Linked DNA regions of Homo sapiens: all the other regions are linked to region 2. Evidence: promoter capture Hi-C in 16 types of primary human blood cells and fetal thymus (Javierre and others, 2016). All regions are on one chromosome and are shown on one strand. Each heading gives the region's core, a stretch centred on a gene start or on the middle of the fragment in contact. The rest is flanking DNA. Distances are from core to core; before and after follow the strand shown.

Region 1 (2,700 bases), core at 17-2,516, 2.9 Mb after region 2:
AAAATCATACCACTGACATTTTAGCTTCTGAGTATACTTTTGCAAAATTACAGCAAAAGTGATCACTATTGAAGCCCATGTTTTAAAGAGCCAGGCTTGACACAGAAAAGTTTTGCTGTTGTATTTGTTTTGGAATTCTACAAACCTTAAAAGATCTAGAACCCAACCCCTGGAAAGATTGTAAATTTTTTTCACAGATGGATTGAAAAAAGTTTACATGATGATTTAGGAGTTAGCTGAGGGAAGAAAAGCATTACCAGTTAACAGGAAAGGGAGAATTAGAGGGGGTATGACTATACATTTTCTGCAGTGGGCCTCCAACTGTGCTCAGCTCTCCAACTCATTTTGGGTTTTGTGGTGAATAGACTTCAGGATGGATCCCATAATCCCCACGTCTTGTGTCCATGCCCTTGAGAGAAGGCAGGTCCCGTGACTTGGTTCTAACCAATAGAATATAGCAAGTTAACAGGATGTCACTCCTGTGATTAACATTTTACAGCAAAGGTGGTAAGATATCTCTCCTGTGATTAGGTTATATTATGTATTACATAAGGACTGTGTCTTAATAGAGACTCTCCTTGAGGGATTAATGAAATAAGTGGCCATATTGGAAAAGTCCACATGGAAAGGAACTCCAGGTGGCGTCTAGAAACTACTGCTGGTCTCTAGGACCTGAGGACAGCCAGCAACCAACAGTCAACAAAAATCTAAGGCCCTCATTTTTACAGTACCAAGGAACTTCATCCTGCCAACAACCTGAATGAACTTCAAAGTAGATTCTTCCCCAGTTGAGCCTCCAGGTGAGAATACATCCTAGCCAACAGATTGATTGGTAACCCCCTGAGAAGAGTACCCAAGTAAACTGTACCTGGACTCCTGACCCATGGAAACTATAAGGTAATATATGTGTGTTAATTTAAGCTGCTAAAGTTAAAGTAATTTTTTATTACAATTAATAGAAAACTACTACAGGGTTGAAATTTTCAAGGGGGAAACAGATGGACTACATAAATACTCAATTAGGCTAAGAGAATCCCACATCAGAAAGAACTCTTCTCCAGCAACTTAGAGCACAGCTTTTAAGATTGAAAGCCTTGTAGGGAAACCTCAAGTCCACAAATCCCCTAAGCATTAGAACAGTGGCCCAAGGAAGCACCTAGATTGAGGCCTAAGATCAACTTCCTCAAGTTTCACACTACCCAGTGTGGAATGGATGAGTCTCAGAAAATTCTCATCACTCCCTTAGAGAGATGCAAAAGTGACTGAAAGAGCCAATGGCCCAGAGAAGTCAGGAGTTGGAATAGGGGGGATACAGTACTTAAGGTTTCAACAGAAGGTGCAGGCCCACATCAGGAGTCACCATAGCAAACAAAGAAACCTCAACAAAGTCAACTCCCTTCCTTCCACACAAGGACAATTCATAAACCCACTTCCATACTGCAGAAAAGATGAAGGAAAATGAGAGTGAAAGAACCCTAAAGGAATTTGTTTAATCCAAACAGACTAAATGTCTTTACACTTATATATTTAAGTTTTCCATCATCAGTAGAAATGGACATTTGAAAGGTAAATTAAATTTTAGTTACAGAGAAGTAAAGTGGCATTTTTGCAACCAAAAAGGCCATCCACTTGGGGACTATATAATTTCAAAACCACTATATTTACTATGACAAATAGAAAATATATATTTATTTATGCATACTTTTATTAATGGTACATTTTGTTTCTATTTTATCCTATTATTCTAATTTATGATTTCTGGCCTATGCTGTAATATTCGACTAGCTACCATTTTTTTTCATTGATTCTTTTATGTTTGACATCCATACAAAGAACCCAATTGCAATTAAGAATGTTTCTTCCATTTCAAACCTTATTCCTTTATTCCTGTTGGAATGATAAAATTTTCCAGCACTAGTGAGGCTTCCAAGCAGGGACCTTTTTATTTATTTCTGAGTTCTATACCAAACATCTATCATCTTCCTAACACAGAGCTGATTTAGTCTCCACAAGTGATGTGTCAACAGTTATTAAATTATGCGTGTTCTCAGCCTCCATCCTAACCCAAGATACTAAAGAAGATCCTGGCTTGAAGTCCTCAGTCTCCTGTCAACTGAATTCAATCCATTCTCCTGAGGTTTGTTATGCAGAATCAGGAAGAAAGCTAGAGACAGAGAAAGACTGGGAGGCCACAGGCTACGGCTAGGGAAATCTTTAAACAGGGAAAGGTTTGAAGATTATAAGTAAAGTTTAGAATGAAAAAAAAAATGTAAAAGCAGTTGTAATGAGTAAAGAAAATGCATGAGAGAAAGAGGAAAAATATTTTTAAATTACTGTGATACATGTATTTTTCTTTGTGCTATTTGAAAGATACAAATAAAGGATTTTCATTTTAAGATTATCTTGTGACTGGATGTGTTTATTCTAAGCTAAATACCACTTACTCTAGGCACTATATGAATGTATGGAATTATTCTTAATAAATACAACATGCTGAGAATGTTCATTTCTTGATGGTTCAAGATCTCCACTGTGTTGGGTCATACAAAGATCATGAATCTGCACTGTATAAGGTTATAGATATAAATATAAGTGCTTGGACTGCACATGGGCCATCTAGAATATGTCATAGAATGATATGAAGATTTTTTCTTAACCCCCAAGTCTCTGATTTATCTTTGGACTATTTCTCCTGAAAGT
Region 2 (2,700 bases), core at 155-2,654:
GCTGCACAACAACTATATATCCACTTCAAAGTGACTGAGAAAGGAGACAACAGAAAAGAAAGGAAGAGAAAGAAAATATACGGAGGAGAGGAGAGAGAGTAGCAGAATAGAGAGAGAGGACAAAATCAGAGGAGTAGAGAGAGACACACACATGGCAGGAGAGAGAAGAAAGAGAGACAGACAGAGAGAGAGACTGAGTGAGAGAGAGAGATTCATTTTAATGGACAGCATCAATATTTTTATAGGGCCAGTTTGCAGAACTGCTTACAGCTACAAACCCAGCAGACAAGGCACTATTAAGAAGGTTACATGAGCATGAAAATTCTACGTTGAAAAGAATGGGAATCTAATAGTTGGTTTTGCAAACACACAAGCTCTCGTGACAGTAGGTTTTGCAGTATCTAAATACAAAAGACAAGCTCTCTTGCCCCATTGAGGATATCGCATGCCCAAGGTTTTTCACATTTTCAATAAATGCAGATGTCTGCTCAGGACTTTCTTTACAGCCTCTTTGACCTCTTTATTCCTGAGGCTATAGATGATGGGATTTAACATTGGGCTTACCACTCCATAAGACAGCCCAATAATCTCATCAGATGTATTAGTGTTCTTTGACTTGGGTTTCATGTACATAAAAAGGGCTGAACCGTAGAATAAGATGACCACAATCGAGTGCGCTGAACAGGTAGAGAAGGCTTTCTTTCTTCCCTCAGCACAATTAATTCTCAGGATGGAAGAGAGAATAAACACATAGGAGATGAAAATTAACAGTAGAAGAATCACCAGTGAAACAATATTTGTCACTGTCATGATAAGCACATTGATGGTGATATCTGAACAAACAAGTTTTAGAAGGGCCAAAATTTCACAGGTAATATGATCAATGACATTATTCCCACAGAAAGGCAACATCATTGTCAGAACTGTTTGCAATAGGGAGGTCAGACAGCCTATGATCCAGGACCATGCAGCCATTTGCACATACAGCACTCCGTTCATGATGATGGAGTACCTCAGTGGGTTGCAGATGGCCACATAGTGGTCATAGGCCATCACAGCCAGGAGGACACACTCAGTGGAGCCCAAGCCAAGGGACACAACCATCTGCAGAGCACAGCCAATGAAGGAGATGGATTTTCTCTCAGACATAAATATAATAAGCATTGGAGGAATGGATGAGGATGTGTAACAGATGTCCAAGAATGAGAGGTTTCCAAGAAAGAAATACATGGGAGTATGGAGGCGAGAATCCAAGATGGTGATGATAATGAGGAGGCTATTTCCCAGGAGGATTATCATGTACATGATGAGGCAGAGCAGGAACAGAAAAAGCTGGAGCTCTGGATATTGGGAAAGCCCCACCAGAAAGAATTCAGTCATGGCAGAGTAATTTCTTGTCTCCATGTGTTCTAGGTCACCTGCCTGCTGGGTAGTATAGAAAAGGACATGATTCAGGTAAATTGAAATGTTTGATACATCAAAATCTGTAAATCTGTACATCTACAAATTTTCAATACAAATTTGCTTCCGATATTGTGTTTGATTCTTAGAATACTCTCAGTAAGCAAAACAGTATGGATATTGTACTAGTTTTATTGATTATGAAAATTGAGACATTGAGAAACCCAATATATCTTAGGACTACACAGCAGCACATTCAAAGCTACCAATACTGCCAGAATTATTCTGGGAAGTGTCAAATAAAGTTTAGGAACATGCTGCTTTCAAATGTAGAAAGAGATTTTGAACTTAAAGCTGTTTTTTTGATGAAGCTGGCCTCTATTTAAAAGATTTTATAGACTGCCAGTGACATATCATTTAACCTGGATGTAGCTTTGGTAAGTTGTTTATTTTTCTGAGTTGCAGATAGTTCATAGTAAGCTTGGAAAAAGCAATAATTATTTCTTAGAGTATAGTTAGAATTAGATAAAATATTAGGTGCCTAGAACCTAATGGTTCCAACATGGCATATGTGTGTGTGTGTGTGTGTATGCATATATGTAATATAATTATATTTACCTTATACAAGATATAATATTAAATGTATTTTTATACACATGCATTTTATGAATTATAGTATAATATTTAGATCTACCAATCTTAAAAGGGAAAAGTAGATTTAGCTTTTTAAAGGTAAAAGGTTTAAAGTTTGAAACCACACTTGACAGACTGTGAACATTTTTGTTCTCAGTGGGATATTTCATTGCACTTCTTTCAAAAACCTGTTAGGAGTCTGAGAATCATTGGAGGACTGTTCTAGAAGCTTCCAGAGATTAAGGAGTCTAGGTCCCAGCATGTACAGCTTTTTTTCCAGGCCCTGGGATTCTCTCTTCTTAAGTGTAGTATTACTGCCATTTTACAAAGTAGGAAACAGAGACAAAGAAAAGTTTAAGTAACTTTCTCAAGGTCATACAGATAGTAAATACTAAAGCCAGAATTCAATATCTAGCCATCTGGCTATAGAATCAGCCCTTTTACCCACCATACACTACTCTCTCTCAGTGGTTACTACACAGATTCCACGCAAGAGAAGACTATTACAAAAATGTATCTTCTGTTGGGGTACAGTGAGACAGCAAACATCATTTACTTGTGATTCTGATCATATGTGATGTGATGGAGAACTCTGAAGGCTGGACCACTTACTTTTTCCTGTAGCTTTTGATTGTGGTCTGCTCAGTTTTCTTTTCTTTTCTCTCG
Region 3 (2,700 bases), core at 11-2,510, 2.7 Mb after region 2:
TATCTATACACAGGTAGATATTAACATTATATAACAAAGTACTCATTATTAGAAAGGAAGAAAAACTGCATTTATTTCTATTATTAGACTATAAAATACAGTAGCGTTTTATTTTCCTATCAGTATAATCCCACTACCTAGCACAATGTCAGGCAAACAGTTGTTGCCCAATAAATGATAGATAACATAAATCACATTTAGAGCCATAAAACAAGTCTCAATAAAATTAAAATTATTCAAGTAACATAAATTATGTTCTCTGATTGCAATGAAATTAAAAAAATAAAAAAATCAATTATGAAAAGATTTCTGAAGATTTACCAATATTTGGAAATTAAATTATATACTCAACAACTCATGGGTCAAAGTAGAAAGCAAGGACAAAATTATAAAGTATTTTGAACTAAATAAAATATAAATGTGTATCAAAATTTGTGAGATGCCACTAAAGTAGTAAAGCAAATAGGAAAACTTATAGCAATAAATGCCTAAATTAGGAAATATGAAAAGTTCCAAATAAAAAGAAAACTCAGCTGTTACATTGAGGACCAAGAAATGAAGAGCAAATTAAACCCACAGAAGCAGAAGAAAAGTAGTTGAAAATTTCAGATTGAATATAAATAAAGTAGAAAACAGGAAAACAATAGAGAAAAAATAGCTGGCTGTTTGAGAATATCAATAAAATTGATAACCTGAAGGCACACAGATGAAGAAAAATGGGCATAAGAGAAGTTACCAATATCAGGAAGAACAAATGTTGCATCACTACAGGCTCTTCAAAAATTAAGATAAATAAATACTTTGAACTACTTTATGCCATTTTAACTTAGATATAATGGCACATTTGCTAAAAGACACAAACTATCAAACTCATTCAAGAAGAACTGATCATCTAGATAGCCCTATACCTATTAAAGAAATCTAATTTGTTGTTAAAAATTTCCCCTTCCAGGCCCAAATAGCTTTGCTAACAAGTTATACCTAATATTTAATAAAGAAATAATACAAGTTCTACACAAATTCTTTATAAAACTAAAGAGGAGAAAATATCTCTTAACTCTTAACTCATCCTATGAAGCCAGTAGTAACTTGATTCTCACACCTGATAAAGACATTAAAAGAAGACATAAGATCATTATTTTTTATAAACATATATGCAAAAATTATAAATATAATTTCAGAAAATTGAATCCAATGATATTTTTAAGACATGACATATCATGATGAAGTGGAGTATATAAATTGGTTTGACATTTTACAATTAGACAATATCATATGTTATATTAACAACCTCAAAATAAAGATAAAGCATGTGAATATCTCAATAGTTGCAGACAAAGCAATTAATAATTCTTAATATTGGTTCCTGATTTAAAAAAAACCTTCAGGAGACTAGAAATAGAAGTGACAGTTTTCAAGCTGATTAAAGGCATCTGCAAAAAACTTACAGCTAACATGATGCTAAACTTACAAGACTAATTGTTTCCCCACCAAGGTTAGGAACAAGTAGGAGTGTTCATCATAACTGTTTCTATTCAATATTATAATGGATACACTAGCAGATTCAATAAAGCAGGGCAATGAAATAAAACCCATCCAGATTATACCCATCTTTAATTATTGAAAAAATGATCATCTGTCTACATAATCTGATAATGTCTACAAATAAATGACTAGAATAAGTGAGTTTAGAAAGGTTACAGGATATGCAATTAAAATGTAAAAATTAATTGTACTTATATATTATACCAATAAAGAATGAAAAAATATAACTAACAATACAATACCATTTCCAAAGCATCAAAAATATAAAATTGTTAAGGATAAATCTGACAAAATATGTATATACTAAAAATTACATGAAGTTCATAAATATTAGGGAAGACAAATAAATGAAGAGATATACTGTGCTCATGGATCAAAAGAATTAAAATTGTTAAGATGTCAATTCTTCCCAAATCGATCTATAGAATCAATATATTCCAAATACAAATCTAAGCCTGCTTTAAAAAACTTAGCTGATTATTAAATTCACAGACTCCATCTCAAAAAAAAGTAGAGTAAATAAGACAATGTGGTATGAGCAAAAAACACAAAAAAACTCATCAATGAAGCAAAATATAGAGTCCAGAAATATAATCACACGTGTAAACAACTGATCTTCAACAAGGGTACAAAGGCAATACAATATAGAATGATCTTTGTAAACAAATGTTGCTTGAACAATTGGATATCCACAGCAAATACATGAAATTTGATCCTTACCTCACACCATACAATATAAAATTAACACAAAGTAGAACACAGAACTAAAAAGTAAAATTATAACATTTCTAGAAGAAATGACAGGAGAAAAATCTTTGTTACCTTGCCTTTGACAAATTTCATAGATATGACATCAATGGCACTATTAATTTTAAAAACATATAAATTTGACTTCAAAGTTACATGGGTCTGCATTTATTGTATATCAACTTATCTCAATAAAAATGTTAAAAGTAAATTACAAAAATAGTGTAAGGTTGCCAACTTTTTATTTTACTAAATAATGGCATGAAAATAAAACAATTTTATGTTATCACTATTATTTCATAAAGAAAAGATATGTAAAGTTAACCTCTTAAAAATAAATGATCATCCTTCAAATAAAATTAACATGTTTATTTTAAATTTATGCCTTTGTATTTATTTTCTCAATTT
Region 4 (2,700 bases), core at 127-2,626, 3.0 Mb after region 2:
TCCTACTCACTGCCTTGTCTACCTCATTTGTTCTTCCACTTAGTTCTGTAACTTTGAAGCAGCTCTGAAGTACAGTGAAACCCATGACCTGGTTTGAAGCTAGTGAAGTCCAGGAAGAATTGCACTCTGTAGTTCAAAAGGCTCTTCTGGGTGATAGTCATTAAGAGAGAAATTTAGTGCAAAATCAAGATCTTTCTAGGTTTTCCAAGTAATTAATTAAACCATCAGATAGTAAGTGTATTGGTGAGACTTAGTCAGTTATTTGAAGAGTGAAATTTTAATGAAAAGAATTGTTAATTAAGTACAAACTTGTCAATTAGGTAGTTGGAAGGATAATAGGAGAACTTTATGATATCGTGAATTTAAATTCTCCAAGCAGTTGCCATTCATTGAGCTGAGGAAAGAACAAGAGACTGGAAATAGAAATATTTAGAGGCTTAGAGGGGTAGCCCCATAAAGCTGAAATTCAGGCATCTGAGGAAAAGGGGTGTTGCTCAGCTGGTGATGGAATCGTTGAGCTCCAAGGAGGGACCCTAAAGAGCTCAGGTTCAGACCTTTACCCTGCTGGTTGATGGTATCTCCGAGGGCACGGAATAAAGTGGTTCTACAAATATTGAAAAATAGCTACTGTCTCTCATTAAAGATTTTTTGAAAGTCGAGACTTGGAGCCTTAATTATCTTAGCTCTCTAGTTTCCATTCACCCACCCCTACTCTGTCCAGCTTTCCAATGCTCATTTCGCTATCAATTATCTCCAGTTTTGAAAGACAGCACTAGATTCCGCCACTGCCCTGGAAAAGAACCACTAACAAGTTGAAGAAGTATTGCTGGGGTGATGCTTACAGGAACCTAGAGCAGTCAGGTAACCCACAGAAAGCAAATCAGAGACAGAAAAGACAGACAAGAAGCAGCAAACCCTTTCTCTTCCTTCAGTCTTGCAGTCTCCCCCTAGTGGCCTCTACTGGCAAAGCCCACCAGAACCAGAAACGTAATGGGTGGAATACAGTAGTCTCCCCTCTTCAAGGTTTTGCTTTCCAAGGTTTCAGTTACCCATAGTCAACCGAAAATAAACAATTCATAAGTTTTCCATTGGACGCTATTCTGAGTATCATGATGAAATCTCCCACCGTCCCACCCTGACCTATCGGGATGTGTGAATCATCCCTTCGGTCAGTGAATCCGGGCTGTATGCACTACCCGCCTGTTGGTTATCAGCATCATCTGCCCCTGACATCCAACCATAGATGTCATCATGGCTCGATGATCCAGGATCTCCCAAAGCAGATGGTCCTCCTGACATATGGTCAGAAGTTCAGTAGTAGCCTAATGCTCTGTGACAATGCCAATGCCATTCACCTCACTTCATCTCATCACATAGGGATCTTATCATCTTACATTATCACAAGAAGGACGAGGGTGAGTACAGTACAGTAAGATATTTTAAGAGAGAGAGGCCACATTCACAAAACTTTTATTACAGTATATTGTTATATTGTCCTATTTTGTTATTAGTTATTGTTATTAATCTCTTCAATTAATTTATAAATTGAATTTTATTATATGTATGTATATGAGAAAACATAGCATAACTGCTCAGAGCTGTGGAGACTGCAATTTTCCAATTCATCTGAACTAAACAGTCAAAATCAGACAATTCAAACTTTAGAAGAAATCTATTAATGTGAATGATTTGCTTTAGCCATCTGCTTTGTCATTCAGAGTGCCTAAAACCATGTCTGGTTGCCAGTCAACTCTGTACCACATAATGTTACCATAATTGTTTGGCAAAATTTCTACCTGGGATACCTCATCACCAGAGGTTGACTTTTCTCAGTCGTCCCTCCCTTAGGAAAGCAACTTGAGTAAACTGATTATATAATTTTGCCATAAATAGAAATCCCTGAGTTACAACATGAATCCACAGAACAGGGTGGAAATTGGAAGGTATCAGCCTATTGCAGATCTCTAAACTAGAGGAGATCTCCATCCAAACACTAAATTCTTACCCTTGAATATGGACTTGGGGCATCAGTCATCTGCCAAATCTTAATATATACATTGATGCCACTGATGTCTGCAAAAGATTACCAGTATTTGCATATACTTGACATTCTCTATACAACAAGTGAATTTTTATGTTAATTTGTGTGTATGCATGAGACTCAGTAAGAATTCTCCAAAATAGAAAGATTTGTTGGAATACCAAATAGCTACTATCTGTCATTTAAGATTTTTTGATAGTTGAGACTTAGAGCCTTAATTATCTTAGCTCCCCAGTTTCCACCCACCCATCTCTACCCTGCCTAGACTCCCAGTGATCATTTACCTATAATTACCTCTCCTGTTCTTAAAGACTGAACTGATACTGTCCATACTTCAAATCTAATCTCTGTATTTTCTTCTCCCGGACCCCAAAATCACTGAGATTCACCCGGAGTTCTCTAAAACAGGATTTCCAGGAAAAACAATTTAGAGAATAACAGTAAAAGAGACCAATTTTATGTAGAATAGGTTTACGTTCAAGGCATCCAAGCAACACTTTTTGAAATGTTCTTTAAGCCATCATGTTGATAGATCATAAAATGACATCTATCATTCTCTGAGTCTTTCATAACTGAAAAAGGAATAAATGCAGTGTAGAGTCAGGCTAGAGTGTTTCACTTCCTTGGGGCCTTGGGTACTTGTATAATAATTTTTAAAA
Region 5 (2,700 bases), core at 11-2,510, 2.9 Mb after region 2:
GCTGGGGCTGCTACCCTCCCTGCAAGTCAGAGATATGGCAAGCACATTTTGTAACCACTGTGAAGAGTGTAAACAATTTGCCAAGATTTCACAGATAAAAAATATATAAAGCCAATATTCTACCTCATGCAGTGACTTCACAACTCAAACAACTACCATGCAAATCTCCTTCCATCATCCCCACTTCAAAGGATGTTGGAACACTCATCTAACTCATTTCCCTACTTCCAGCCTTGTCCCTAATCCATCCCTCCACACAGAAGCTAAGTAATTATTATGAATGCTACCCACCTTCTCAAAATTATGTAATGCCTTCCACACTCTCTCAGAATAAAATCTAAAGTTTCTAACACAGCATACATCCCTAATGATCTGGTTTCTGTCTACTCAAGTCTTATTTTCTGACACTTCCACTGTTTTTCAGCTCTACAAAAATATTCACCTCCTCATTCTTCACTCATCCACTCAATAAGCATTTGTGGAACATCTATCATATATGACAAGTCTGTTTTAACAACAAGAAATTTCTCAAAGTTAGATGATGCCCCTATTCTCTTTAGTGAGATAATAAGTATCAAAATTAATAAATTCAAAGAAGGATAAATGCTATGAATCAGAAAAAAAAAATGTTATAGGAGTAACAAGATTGGAAAGATGGTCCAGAAAGGGCTGAATGATAATTTGGAGGGAGAAGTTTCTAGGAGAGGGGATGAGGATAAAGACTCTGAAGAGGAAGGAGGTCAGTACCTTCAAGGAACAGAAAGAAGGCCAGTGTGTCAGAAGGGGAGTAGGCAGGGGGAGAGTAGACCAGGAGAGACAAGAGGGCTTGATATTGTGAAGCTAAAAGAGGGTACTACGCAGAGGAATGACATAACAATACTTTTATGTTTTAAAAGGAGCACTTTGGTTGCCGGATCAAGAGTGAATTATAGGGAACAAATACAGGAGCTGAATTTGCAGGTTCCTGGGCATACCACATTTGCTTACTCATCTCTATTACACCTACAGAAAATTTTTGCTCTATTACACCTACAGAAAATTTTTGCTCATACTTGAAATATCAGCCTAAATACTAGCATCTCTGTGACACCTTCTCTCATTCATGTAGGAAGATCTAACCACTTCTTCTTCTAGAATTCCATTGCATCAGGGGGAGTTCTAGCAAACTGCTAGAACCCATTATCCTTTGGAGAGACCAGAGAATCATGTAGACTTCTGGCATTTGTACTATTTTTCTTTATATACTAGAGAAAATGCTGGTACTGTCACTATGCACCAGTTAACTCTGGCTCCCAAGTTGTAGTTGGATGAAACAATTAGTCGGCCTTGGCCAGGCACGGTGGCTCATGCCTCTAATCCCAGCACTTTGGGAGGCCGAAGCAGGCAGATCTCGAGACTAAGAGGTCAAGACCATCCTGGCCAACATGGTGAAACCCCGTCTCTACTAAAAACACAAAAATTAACTGGGCATGGTGGTGCACACCTGTAATCCCAGCTACCTGGGAGGCTGAGGCAGGAGAATCACTTGAACCCAGTAGGCAGAGATTGCAGGGAGCGGAGATCACGCCACTGCACTCCAGCCTGGCAAGAGAGCAAGACTCCATCTCAAAAAAAAAAAAAGAATTAGTTGGCCTTTTAAAGAGATCATAATAATTTCTATTAAAACCAACATATATAAGTTAAAAGGAGAACTTACAAATGGTAAATGCTAAAAGAAATGCCTATGTAATAACTAATTTTAATTTTTTGTTTGTTTGCAGCTTTTAATACTGATTTCAGCATTATATAACAGATGCTATCTTGGGCATCTACAGGCATTATTTTATAAAACCTTTCCAATAGTCCTGAGAGAGAAGTCTGCCCTCTGTAGTCATTACCAAGTTGATTTCTTTCAAATGCATCACAGTCTTGACATATTTATAAAATTAATGCTTCCCAATTTTCAAACTCAGTCTTTAGCAAGAAGTAAAGTATATCCTTGATAGCTCCTTGCAGTAGAAATATTTTTCCTCTGACATTTTAACAAGTTTTCTATTTCACTCTCTTGTCGTCGGAATGCTGCCTTGAGGATTTTCTCATCTTCTAGCCAGTGTCAAACCCTAATCCTTCTTACAGGCTTCAATATCTATATTCCAAACCCATAGATAAAAAGCAATTTCTTCCTGAAGTTTCCTGATGGGAATCACAGTGGACTCACAAGAACCCACATTGGGAAGTATTATGGAAACCTATGAGGCATTACATTCTTTCCTCCAAGTCTGCAGAAAGTCTAAAAACAAATCAATACATGTTGAGTGTCTAAATGCCTTCCTGCCAGCCAGTTTCTTTAGGATTAAAGGGATTCTCCAACCCTCTCCCTACAAAAAACAAGTGAAGAGCTGCACTGAAACTCTCTATGTCTAATTGACAAATGCATTACAGTGGGAACTCAAGTTCCTTGATTAATATGATGCTTCCCTTTCACCTGCCTTCTAATGACTGGGCCATCCATTGCTTCATTGTCGAATCATTGCAACTTTGAGTTGCCACAAATGAGAAGTCCTTTGTGTAAACACAGTTCCCTAAGTAAGAAAAGCAGCATAGACTCACCAAGTTGTTCAGGGCCAGCTGTCAAATCAGAGATGAAAGAACTGATTTTTAGAAGTTCGCAGAGCAGATGAAGAAAACACTTTTAAAGTGCTGTCAAGGTGCAGCTGTCCT
Region 6 (2,700 bases), core at 148-2,647, 2.9 Mb after region 2:
AAATGCTTAGTGGAACCCTTCTACCCTCAGGATAAAGTTCACAGGCCCCAGCGTAGCATAACATACTCTTCTGATTTGGTTCCTCATTAACTCTCCAACCTCATCTCTCATCCTCTCAACACCAATATGCCCCATTCATGCCAAACCACTGTGTGACAGGATCCAATGACAACGACAAATTTCATGAAACACGTATAATTCTACTTGTATCTAAGGTTAAAGGACTTTCTTATTAAGTGTCTGGGGGTGAAGGATGGGGTTTTTAAGGAAACCTATGTCAATGAACCCCATTTGTGTGCATAAAGATAACCAGTTGCATGTAGGTTTGATTTCTGCAGAATATAGGTAATTCCCAAGGGGACCAGCAGAGAAGAAGGAAAAAAAATGTTAGCTTCACCAGGCTCCTTAAATTATGACAACACTTACACATGACTGGCCCAGAATTTAGGCTGCAGTGAAGCATTTCTAATGGCTCAATTCCAAGGCTAATAGAGCCAAGCAACTCTTTGAGGATCCTCTATGTCCTCTCATTTTTTAAAACCCCAGATGCTAGCATATAATCAATGCTTAACTCTATGTTGCAGATCCTTTGCAGGGATTGTGCTCATATAACCTACATTTTCCAGGACAATTGTGATTTCAAATATTCTCCTCTGTAAACCATGGAAATGTTTCATAAATTACAATTTTATGAAAATAATAATGGAGAAGATCAAGAAAGTTAAGTATTGTAGTAAAATTTTAGATGTGAAAAGATGAATAGCACAAAAGAACTGAGACATCAGAGGCCAAGGAAGCATTGTGATACATTGTGAAAACAAAGTATACTATCCCATGTCATATACATCTAGGTATGTAATGTTAAATGTGTGTAACATGTGGCACCCTCAGATAAAAATAAATCATGTTAAAGTGACATTCTGCAAGGAAGCCACTTTCCTGGTTGGCACAATGTGAGGATCAGAATTGAAATGAAGAGTCAGATAGGTATTGTCTTGTTTTATTGTTTGTTTGTTTGTTTGTTTGTTTTATGATTCTTGGAACTTCATGAAAAAATTAATGGAGAAAATTGAAAACCTCAGTGAATTACATGAAAAGAAAACAATATACATTTTACTGTGAAGTTATGTATAGTAATTTATTACAACTTTTACTATTTTGACCACTGCAAGATATTTTGATAGACTCTTGTGACCTCACTTGTTCACTCCTTTAATGAATATTGAGCATCTCCTGTGTGTTGGACACTGTCCTAGGTACTTGGAATGTGAACCTAATGAAACAACACAGGTCACTGTCTTCAAGAAGCTTATATTCTAGCAGTGGACAGATAATACCAATAGGTTTGTAAATTAGTAAATCACATCAGATGTTAAAAGATGATAAATTTTATGCAAAAAAAGTAGTGTAGGGCAGAGGAATTCAGAGTGCCATTAAGGGAAAAGTGTAAGGCTGTAGTATTAATAGAGTGATCAAGGTAAGCTTTATTTGGAAGATAAAATTTGAGCAATCACTTGAAAAAGGTGAAAGAATTAAACAGACAGCTGGGGAAGCATGTTCCAGGCAGAGGGGACAGCTGGAGCAAATGCTCTAGGATGAAAGGACTTTTCACAGTTGTGATTTCACATTTGTATTTTGATCATTGTATTAATCTGCCTCCTTCCTTAGACAGTATCTCCAAAAAAGGTAAGAACCATATCTGCTTTGTTCAATTTTCTCTTAGCATCTAGACCAAGAATGCTCAGAAAATATATATACTGAATGATTAAATAAATGAATATTAATTTGCACATTCATTTTTCTAATGAACTAGGAAAACTCTTCACCTGGTTTGACTAAGAGATTTTCTATTCTAGTCTATTCTAGATTTTGCTCATTCATTCACTTGTGGCTGATTCTAGTCTGTGTGTCCAGCTCCATTACTGACTCATACTAGCCTGTAATTGAATGATACTGCCTTCCATCAGCATACCTATTACTAATTGCAGAAAAACTATAGCTTCATTCTCTACCTGATAGAACTTCACCTTAAGTATGAGAGTGCTTATAAACCTTCCAATACCATCTAATAAATGTCTTCTACAGATTTTTTCCATGGGAGTTCATTTTGGTTCCTCCTAGCATGGCTGAGCAGATTCTGTTCTCTGTTTCTTTATTCTTTGGCTGACTGCCTATGTTCTGCAGAATCAGTATTCTGCTCTGCTGTGTGATGGACAGGGGGTTATCCCACTTCTTTTTGGCAGGAAGAGGGACTTCAAGTTTGGCTCTGAGCTGAAAATGAATAACACACTAGAAAAAATAAGGTCACCACTATTCCTCCTGTGTAACTCGCTATTAAATATTTTCTTTGCATGAATTAGCTCAGGAATTTTAGTATTTAACTATTTTGAGCCCAGTACCATAAAACATAAATGTACAATATGCCAGTTAAGCTCTGTGAATTCTACAGCACATAAAAAACTAAGCAACTGTCATTGGAAAAAAACACAAAATTACATTCCTGCAGTTCAAATTTTTATCAAGTATGTTTGAAAATATTTTATTATTGTATTGCAGAATACAAAAAGTAAGCAGAAATACGTAAGAGAAATCTTCTAATACAATATGTGAAAAGGTATACTTTTTCTAAATAATATGTCCATTTTTATCACATTTGACATAATACACAGAGTTATGATGGAAATAAAGTTTACAAAGCAC
Region 7 (2,700 bases), core at 4-2,503, 3.0 Mb after region 2:
ACAATAGTTAAAAGAGCACAATGTAATGAAACGCATATGAAATAGTGGCCAAAATGTTCCCAATCTGCCTCTTTCGTTGCAGATGTTCCCAATCTATCTCTCACTAGCCATGTAATTTTGGGCAAGTGACTATCTCTGAGCATCTACACTTATCAGAAGTGTAGATCAAAAGAAGGTACTTTACCAATCTGACAAAGATGTTGTGAATCAAATGAGAAAGTAAAAGTACTTTGGAAAAGTTATAGTGTTACCCAAATAACTAGTGGAGAGGTGTTGGTCATTATCTGGTAAGAATCACTTAAGTGTTAAAGTTCAACTAATTTTCTTTTCGAAATTACTAATCAAAATGAGATATGATTCACATGTAAAATGTTTGCATTCCCCTTACACCTTCCTCTTTACCCTCTCCCTCATTTTTTTCTCTTAAAAAAAAGTGGGCTTAGAAATAAACAAACAAACAAAAAACTAGGTTCCTAAGTAGGTTGCACACTTGCCTGGAAAAAGAAGACATGCCACAGTACTGTTTCTGTATTACCAGCAACTTTTAACCTATGGCACATCTAACACAGCTTCTAGAGCCTTAAGTCCTGCCATAGAAATATCATTAAGATGCCCAAGATATTTGAGAAATGTTGGTCCTTCACATTGCTCATAAGTTTTTTCTATAGGCAAACTATCATTCAGGAAATTATGACCATACAGAGTCTACCCCACTCTCACTCCTATTCCGCCAACTACACCACAAAGCAAACATCCAAATTTTTTCATAGCAAACTTTCTTGATAAGGAAAGCAGTGTGTTGATTCATACTGACCTAAGCTCCTTATCTCATCATGGATATATAATTTACAAACCAGCTACTTTGAGTCCCATTGCCCTAGATAACTGTATACTCTCTTAGGAAAGTATTGCTCATTTTAGTGGCAACAGTAAATATAGAGATGAGAAATCTCATTGTCTTTTTTTCTGCTAGCTCTGGCTATTGCCACATATACACAAGAATAGAGGACCTATGTAGCACCAGAAATATGATGCCAAATCCATAAAACTAGGCAAGAAGAAAGAACATCTCTTAGCATCTGCCATATTACTTTTTGAGTGAATGTTTGAATGACAAACTCATAGAAATTTTTAACCTCTCAGTTGTCTTTTGCTGATATTTTCTCTATGAGATCACAGGAGCAAAGAGCAATGGGGAAGAGGTGAGCTAAGAGTAAGCCAACTCTCTCCATTTCCTTCTCCTTTCCTCAACCTGACACCTCAGCCAAATTCTCAGATATTTTATTTAATTGTGTAAGATTCATGCACTTTCAGGGAGACTGTCAACTGTATTTGATCTCCTGCCTTGAAAAAGTGGGTTGATCCCTGACCTGGCTGGCATTATGTCATGAGGAGTAAACTTTGACATTGAAAGGCTGGTGTCTGATTGGCCAGGGCTGGTTTGTTAATGGAGATGAGCCTGCAAGGGTTCATGTGGTAGAGAATTAAGCAGGATGACTCCTTTTTCAGTCAGGATGAATTACACCTCATCGTTATTCATTTGAAGCATAGATTTAGGAAGAATTTTAATCATATTATATTTTTGCAGCATTTATGTTTTTCAAGGCTTTTTCACAAATATGTTTAAATAATCTCCTAACAGCCCTGTAAAGCAAATGACTATGTATAGACAAAATATGGAGAAATAGAAAGAACTATGCATTGTAGGAAGTGAGAAGCCATCCAGAAGAAAAACAGACTAATAGCACCTTCTTAACTTCGTCTATTTGTCAGCCTTCAACCAAAGAACAGATTGGATCCATCACAGCTTTTGTAATATCCCATAAGAAAAGGCATAAAAGAGAGAAGTATCTACTTCCAGGTTGGACTATTAAAAGCATATTATATAATAATGTTCAAAATGATGGAAATGTAATTAATTGAATCATTTTTTAACGGAGTACAATGTACTCATTCAAAATGAGGATATATTTATTGACACAGAAAGATAGAAAAATTTTACAAAAATGTATGTAAAGTGTGACCTTGTTCCTGTAAAATATGAAGTCTAGAACTTTGTTTATAAAAATCTTAACAGGGATTATAGAGGGTGAAAATCTACATTTTTCTCTATTCATGCATCTATTTTTCTAAAAATAATCATTTTTACCTACAGAATTAAAAAATAATAAGAGAAAAAAGATAAGTTGTCTTTATACTTTCTCATCTAGACTTTCAATACTTCAGTATGAAAATACATATTTTAGAAAGAATAAATTGTAGTGTATGTTTAAATGTATCAAAGCCCTCTCTCATCTCTTTTATAATTTTTTCCTCACAGTTACTTTGTGAGGAGAGCCAGAAAAATATTATTACCATTATAATGTAAATGAGATAATTATAACATATGATGGAGGAAATATAAGGTGGGAGTTAAGAGATTACATTTTTGAGAAGTTCAGAGCTATGTTAGAATCTTGGCTGTACAACTTTTTAGACATCCTACCTTGGAAAACATACCTGATGTCTCCATGTTTCAATTTATTAAGTCATAAAATGTGATTATCTTATAAGTTTATGGTGAGGACTGCACCATATGTACCTAGAGCAGTGTGTTCTTATGATGTTGATAATTGTTCTTTTAGCATAAAGTGTTGACGTGGCAAGATTCATAAAAACTAATCAGAAAAAGAACTCAAATATTCTACCTTATTATGCATT

What was found. The method cuts DNA at HindIII sites, captures the fragments that hold promoters and counts their contacts. A CHiCAGO score of 5 or more calls a contact.
Region 1: a fragment that was not itself captured here is called in contact with the fragment with the promoter of OR13D1 in region 2 in 1 of 17 cell types (endothelial precursors); the score reaches 8.0 in endothelial precursors.
Region 3: a fragment that was not itself captured here is called in contact with the fragment with the promoter of OR13D1 in region 2 in 1 of 17 cell types (M1 macrophages); the score reaches 5.1 in M1 macrophages.
Region 4: a fragment that was not itself captured here is called in contact with the fragment with the promoter of OR13D1 in region 2 in 1 of 17 cell types (M0 macrophages); the score reaches 5.1 in M0 macrophages.
Region 5: a contact is called between a fragment that was not itself captured here and the fragment with the promoter of OR13D1 in region 2, in 1 of 17 cell types (M2 macrophages). The highest score is 6.3, in M2 macrophages.
Region 6: a fragment that was not itself captured here is called in contact with the fragment with the promoter of OR13D1 in region 2 in 6 of 17 cell types (M1 macrophages, endothelial precursors, naive CD8 T cells and 3 more); the score reaches 7.4 in M1 macrophages.
Region 7: a fragment that was not itself captured here is called in contact with the fragment with the promoter of OR13D1 in region 2 in 3 of 17 cell types (M0 macrophages, M2 macrophages and endothelial precursors); the score reaches 7.6 in M0 macrophages.

What each region holds. Positions count from the first base shown.
Region 1 is chr9:101,746,495-101,749,194 of GRCh38, reverse strand. No RefSeq gene overlaps it. Among named protein-coding and RNA genes, the nearest start is that of GRIN3A, 9.2 kb to the right of the region's middle. The HindIII fragment of the contact is 2,918 bases long and covers 1-2,700 here.
Region 2 is chr9:104,693,222-104,695,921 of GRCh38, reverse strand. It overlaps OR13D1 (olfactory receptor family 13 subfamily D member 1), which reads right to left and starts at 1,404. Exons shown (of 1, transcript NM_001004484.2): 1 at 460-1,404. The coding sequence starts at 1,404. The coding sequence ends at 460. All of the region lies in intron 1 of LOC107987105 (a long non-coding RNA gene), which reads left to right. The HindIII fragment of the contact is 5,977 bases long and covers 1-1,883 here.
Region 3 is chr9:101,961,422-101,964,121 of GRCh38, reverse strand. No RefSeq gene overlaps it. Among named protein-coding and RNA genes, the nearest start is that of GRIN3A, 220 kb to the right of the region's middle. The HindIII fragment of the contact is 3,968 bases long and covers 1-2,700 here.
Region 4 is chr9:101,709,788-101,712,487 of GRCh38, reverse strand. The region is part of intron 1 of GRIN3A (glutamate ionotropic receptor NMDA type subunit 3A); the gene reads left to right. Among named protein-coding and RNA genes, the nearest start is that of GRIN3A, 28 kb to the left of the region's middle. The HindIII fragment of the contact is 6,514 bases long and covers 1-2,700 here.
Region 5 is chr9:101,769,298-101,771,997 of GRCh38, reverse strand. No RefSeq gene overlaps it. Among named protein-coding and RNA genes, the nearest start is that of GRIN3A, 32 kb to the right of the region's middle. The HindIII fragment of the contact is 4,715 bases long and covers 1-2,700 here.
Region 6 is chr9:101,787,589-101,790,288 of GRCh38, reverse strand. No RefSeq gene overlaps it. Among named protein-coding and RNA genes, the nearest start is that of GRIN3A, 50 kb to the right of the region's middle. The HindIII fragment of the contact is 174 bases long and covers 1,311-1,484 here.
Region 7 is chr9:101,730,315-101,733,014 of GRCh38, reverse strand. The region is part of intron 1 of GRIN3A (glutamate ionotropic receptor NMDA type subunit 3A); the gene reads left to right. Among named protein-coding and RNA genes, the nearest start is that of GRIN3A, 7.0 kb to the left of the region's middle. The HindIII fragment of the contact is 5,344 bases long and covers 1-2,700 here.